2 separate regions of the Homo sapiens genome follow, and region 1 is linked to region 2. Evidence: promoter capture Hi-C in 16 types of primary human blood cells and fetal thymus (Javierre and others, 2016). All regions are on one chromosome and are shown on one strand. The core of a region is centred on a gene start or on the middle of the fragment in contact, and the rest is flanking DNA. Distances in the headings are between cores, read along the strand shown.

What was found. The method cuts DNA at HindIII sites, captures the fragments that hold promoters and counts their contacts. A CHiCAGO score of 5 or more calls a contact.
Region 1: a fragment that was not itself captured here is called in contact with the fragment with the promoter of CAMTA2 in region 2 in 1 of 17 cell types (non-activated CD4 T cells); the score reaches 5.9 in non-activated CD4 T cells.

Annotation. Positions count from the first base shown.
Region 1 is chr17:5,093,765-5,096,567 of GRCh38, forward strand. It overlaps ZFP3 (ZFP3 zinc finger protein), which reads left to right. Exons shown (of 2, transcript NM_153018.3): 2 at 1-2,610. Among named protein-coding and RNA genes, the nearest start is that of ZFP3, 17 kb to the left of the region's middle. The HindIII fragment of the contact is 739 bases long and covers 1,033-1,771 here.
Region 2 is chr17:4,986,283-4,988,982 of GRCh38, forward strand. CAMTA2 (calmodulin binding transcription activator 2) reads right to left here and starts at 1,393. Exons shown (of 23, transcript NM_015099.4): 1 at 1,311-1,393; 2 at 1-4. It overlaps INCA1 (inhibitor of CDK, cyclin A1 interacting protein 1), which reads right to left. Exons shown (of 7, transcript NM_001394789.1): 6 at 2,497-2,662; 7 at 1,848-2,272. The coding sequence ends at 2,123. CAMTA2-AS1 (CAMTA2 antisense RNA 1) reads left to right here and starts at 1,462. Exons shown (of 3, transcript NR_187235.1): 1 at 1,462-1,943; 2 at 2,134-2,310; 3 at 2,405-2,700. RefSeq lists a silencer at 873-1,412. The HindIII fragment of the contact is 15,391 bases long and covers 1-2,342 here.

The sequences.
Region 1 (2,803 bases), core at 152-2,651, 110 kb after region 2:
GGCTGCCATGATGGAGGAACTGACAGGCAATTTACAACGGGATTATAAGTGAAGGCCTTAGAATCCAGAGGGGCCGATTAGGCAACACCAGGGGATAAACAATTGAGGTCACACTGCTCGGCATGGGCAGAAGCAGCTCTTCAGGAGCTGTCCACACTTCAGGGGTGCTCAGACTGACTGCTCCTAAGAATTCTGCTGCATATATTTTTAGCCCCATCTCCTGCCACTGCTGACAGATATTGTGACAGTAAGTAGCAGACAGGACTGTGGCTTCACCTCCTCCGGGCACCTGGCTACAGTGATGAGTCAGTTCACCTGATGACAAACCAGGGTCTGGCCTTGCCAAAGCACTTAAGTTCTCATGACCTGGACCGCACTGGAGGCCCTGGCTAAGTCAGGATGTCGTAGCCTCTTCTTGGTTTTGCCCCTTGGCCTTGAAATTCTTTTTTCTTGAATAACTTTAAAAAAATAGAGATAAAGTCTTGCTATGTTGCCCAGGCTGGTCTTGAATGCCTGGGCTCCAGCAATCTTTTTGCCTCAACTTCCCAAAGTATTGAGATTACAGGTGTGAGCTACCATGCCCGGCCTTGAAATTCTTTCTTCGCTATGTCTGCATGTTTTTTGTGTTCTGTATTTATTTCTTCTCCAAGGAAACAGCCTACATTTTCCATGTGTCCATGTTTCTGAGGCCGTGGGTGACAGTGGGAATTGCACTAATGGGGGCCCAACAGGCCTGGGGGCTGGTCTTAGCGCTAGACCTTGAACAAGGCACTTCACCTGCTGGTCTCCAATTTTCTCCTCTGTAAAATGAAAGAGTTGAACTAAGTGATCTCAAAAGTTTCAACCAGCCCGATAATTCCTTAATTCTTTAAAAATTTAACTTTATATATCTTTATTATTCTTTAACCTCATCTTTGTTACACTAATATTAGTCACTAATATTTATTGAGTGTTTACTACCTGACAGGCAGAGTGCCAGTTTACATTTTAATTTTCACATCATTTCTATGATGTGGGTACTCATTTTTTTAAAGCTTTATGAAGGTATAATTTACGTACTATAAAATTCACCTGTTTTAAGTGTTCAGTTGAATGATTTTTAATTTACATAGTGGTGCAACCATCAATGATGTGGGTATTCTTACCCCAATTTAAAAGATAAGAAGGGGCAGTGTTAAGTAATTGACCCATGATTCCACAGCTAGTAAGAGCGACAGCCAAGACTCCAAACCTGGTTGATGCTCTTAACCACTGTGCTATGCCGCAGGTAGGCAGATTCATTACTGCCTTATCTGAAACCCTTTGCACAGTTTCTATTACTGATTTCTATGTAGATTTGAATATAACAAATTTAAATCATGTCCTTGGTAACAGAACTGATCACAGCCAAAAAAAATTCACCAAATGGGTTTATTCTGTACTCCAATATAGGTGTCTTCCCAGGTTTATATCCTTGGCTTGAGAAAAGGGTTGTACAAATAGATGATTGCAGAGTTTCCACATCCTTCCAGATACCTCTGCCTCTAGCAGTCACACTCTTAGTAAGGGAAGTTGTTTGATTTACTTCTTCCCTTAGGTTGATTACAAGTGAAGTGCGCCGTCTTATTCCTTTTTCATTGCTGGAGCACAAATTGAATTGTGCCCAGACCGTATCTTTCTCACATGAAACCTGGATCTCACCTATCCCTTCCATGCCTGATTCCCGTGTTTGCATATTTTATTTCCACATTTACCTCTTGTCAGCCCTGACAGAGAATTTGGCACCCCTTCAAGCTTCTCCTAAACAATCTATGCACACAAACACCCCTGAGCAATATGGACTTCACTGAAGATAGTGTGTAAGCAAAGGAGAAGAGTTCACATTGTGCATCCTATTAGACATTTTGTTCTCAGAAGTACCTTACTGGCCAAACCAATGAAGGTTTTCCTCTTGTCCTCCCCTCTCAAGGCTCAGTCACCTCAACTTCTTTTTGCCTACTAGATATCCAATCCATCACCTCGCCTCCCCTGGCCCTAGCTCAATTACCCTCTTAAACCCATTCCTGCTCAGCAAAACTTCCTCTAGTTCACCATTCATTCATTTGAACATTAGGAGGCAATTTAGTGACCTGTTGTACCTGACCATGTTCTTAAGGGGGAGGTCTCACGTCTCATTCCCAGAAAAGTCTACCATATATAGATACATATTCCCCGCCCCGCCCCAGATTTCTGGTGAATGAAATCACTTGTATCTTATTAGGTACATATACGCAAATCCTTAACCTCAATTCTCTGTCCTCTTCATGTCTTACCCAGATATCTCAGGAAGATTTCTCTTTTCCTTCTGTTTGCCTCCCTCTTCGACTTACTTGGGAGTCAGCATCTGACCACAGTCGTGACTGGTAATGATGATTTGTGCAAATACTATCAAGGAAAGGACATGAATTGTCTTAATTTTAGACCCATTAAAAAACCGCACAGGCCTCAATCTTAAAAGTCCTATCTAAATACCCAGAAATACCCTTCAGAATTTTTGAAGCTATGCCCATGTACAAAATTTTCTTCCTTCCCTAATTTTAATGGTATACTAACACCTTAGGTAAATAAAATATTTCTTTACTATTTTATTGATACAATGCCTTTGTCATGTTTATTCCAAATTGCATTATGTTTCACTATGGATTTAATAAGGACTTTGTTTACCAGTTTCATCCCCACCTTGTAAGTTTCACCTTACCTAAATACCCCCACATGCTTGTTAGCTTCTGGTTTTGCATACAGTGTACATTCTGTGTCCTTGATCTGCTTTGCTTGGTGAGATCCT
Region 2 (2,700 bases), core at 143-2,642:
TGTGCTGGGAAGGGAGAGAACAAGGTCATGGCAGAAGCCCCCACATTAATCCAGGATGAGAAGTATGAGGTAGGGAGTGGGTATAGAACTGGGTCATAGTATCTGGGAAGGATGAGGAAAGGGAGGGAGGGGCTGACTGTGATGTGACAGTAGAAGAGAGAACAACACACAGTGCCCGGAGCCAATATGAGTGAGCAGACTGGACAGGAAGAGTGAGCAGGAAGAAATGGGTTGGGGTGGGGGAGCGGGGAGAAGACTGGCAGGGCTTGGGCCTCAGAGGCCCTAAACCTTGAGCTTTTGCACAGACTGGGGCTATGGTTGGGTCAGGTCCTGGGGGTTGGGACTCAGGCCATCCGGTCCTTGGAGGATGGTTTGGCAAGAGAGCCTGGATCCTGGGGGCAGGGCAGGAGATTCTACCTCCGGTAGAAGCTAGGCCTTTAGAAGACACGCCCTGAGTTCCTTCTCTGTTTGATTTTTCCAAGGGGAAGGGCAGATCTGATAACTGAACCTAACCTATTCTCTCCTCCAGGTTGGTTAGGACCTGATAGAATCTGGGCCAGACACCCAGATTCCCACCCTCAGGACAACCCACCCTCCGGCTGACAGCCCTCTCTACGTAGCTCCCTCTCCCCAAACGCCTCTGCCTCCCCTGGCCTCCAGGCCTAGCCTACCCCATCTACCGCTCTGGCTCCAGCCTGAGCCCCCCGCCCTCCTCGGGGAACAGATGGGAGCTGGCGGAGGCTCTCAGCACGGGCTCCGCCAGGTGTCCAGGATGGAGATGGGAGGAGGCCCGTCGGGCTCGGCTATGTGCAGTGAAGCTGGGGTTGGGGTAAGGACTCCGCCCCAGGGCGCAGGTGCGCAGTCCTGGCTAGGCAGCCTGCCAGGGTGCGGAGCGGGAGCGGGTCCTTGGGCTGCACTTGGGCGGCGCCGGATCGGACGCTTGGCACTCTGGGCGGCCCCCCGGCGGAGTGGTGGTCCCAGGAGAACCTCCGAGGTGGGAGGGTCCCGCCCGCATAGAGGGATGTTCTGGAGAAGCCGGGAGCAGAGTCCGCGGGCACGCGGTGGGCGAGGGACAGTGCAGGTGCCGGGTGCGGGGGTCTCCGGGACAGTCCCCGGCACGCGCTGGTCCGCCGTGGGGCCCTGCGGTGAGCGGCGCCCCCTGGCGCGGGGGAGGAGGACGGAAGCGGGAGGTGAGGGCGAACCGGGAAGAGGGACGGTGGTCCCTGGCGCGGCGCTCCGCGTCGGGACCTGGAGGAGCTGCGCCCTCTGGCGCGGGGGCGGAGAGGCGGGCGAGAGGCCCTGGCTCTTACCTCCCGGGGTCCCGCGGGTGACGGCGGCAGCGGCCATTCTACCCCACACCGACCCCCCCCAGCGCCGGCTGACAGCGGCGTCTAACGTCACTGCGCACGGGGCGGGGCCTCCCAATTAAGGGGATGAGGGTCAGGAAGGGAACCTGGGGTCAGCACACGTGGAGTTCTGGGTGGGGCGCTGGGCAGAGGGACTCGGCTTCTAGGGCTCTGAGCCAGGCCGAGGGACAGACTGCTGGGAAGTCCCCAAAAGGGCAGCAGCACTGAGGGGCAGGATTCCAGGGTCCTGGAGGCGGAAGCTCGGCCGACTGACTCCCAGTTCGAGAGAACGGGGCGGGGGCAGCCCACCAGTGCTGGAACCCGAGGGGCCGGGCGAGGAACGCTGGACTGGGAGCAGGACCCTTCTCGCCTCGGACAAGACTCCTTGTCTGGGGACCCAGCCCGACTTCATTGTAGCTGGGTCCTCGAGAAAGCGAAAGGAGCCCTCCTTCCCCATTGGCCTCTCCATCGCTGCATCCCAAGAAGAAAGACAACTCGGGCTCCACTTGCTTGCTTTTTAATAACAGAGCAGAGAGAATACAAGGCCAGGAGCGGGGCCTGGAGGAAAACAGGACTTGGGGTGCTCCTGTGAGAGCGGTGGGTTGAGATGGGAGCCCACGGGGGCTGTTAATGCCTAGTTCAGAGGATGGGAAAGGCAGTTGGAGAGACGAAGGAAGGGGAAACGCCTTCATGTCAGCAATGAGGGTGACTCTAGTGACGGAACTAGTCTTGGGTCCCTGGGGCACCACTAGCCTCTCGGCATCGGTGGTTTCTCCTTACTCTTCAGACGCTGCCAACTCCATCCCCCAGGGATTGTGAAGGGGGTTCCTTCTGGCTGTGACAGTGCTGAACGAGGCCAGAGAGTGCAGCTGCCTGGAGGCACAAGCCTCCTCCTGATCCAGGGGGCTCCAGGGAGACCAAAGCAGCTGTCAAGATGAGAGAAATTGAAAAAGAAAATGGAAAAGTAGGTCTTCTTTCCAGATTTCCTAGTACCCAAGCTTAGGTACCTCGAAGTCTCTGGTTCTCACCTACGTTATTTTTGTTTCTCTCAAATCCAGCTCTCCAGCCTGGCTCTCAGCTTCTGCATCTCCATGCAAGACCAGAGACCCACATCACTCCCTCACTCCACCCAGTTCCACTCCAACAATACCTGGGCCCTGCCAGGAGTGAGAAAACGGTCCTCTTCCTGTGGATAGGTTGCTCTCTCCTCTTCCAGATCAGGGTATTCATTGGTGCTGGGGAATCCACAGCCCTCTTCGCCAAGCACCACTGGCTCAGATGCAGCCCCAGAGCTGCCCCACTGGGCCTTCTTCAGTCTGTGGAGACTTTAGGCTGAGGAGAGAAGTGCCTGGAG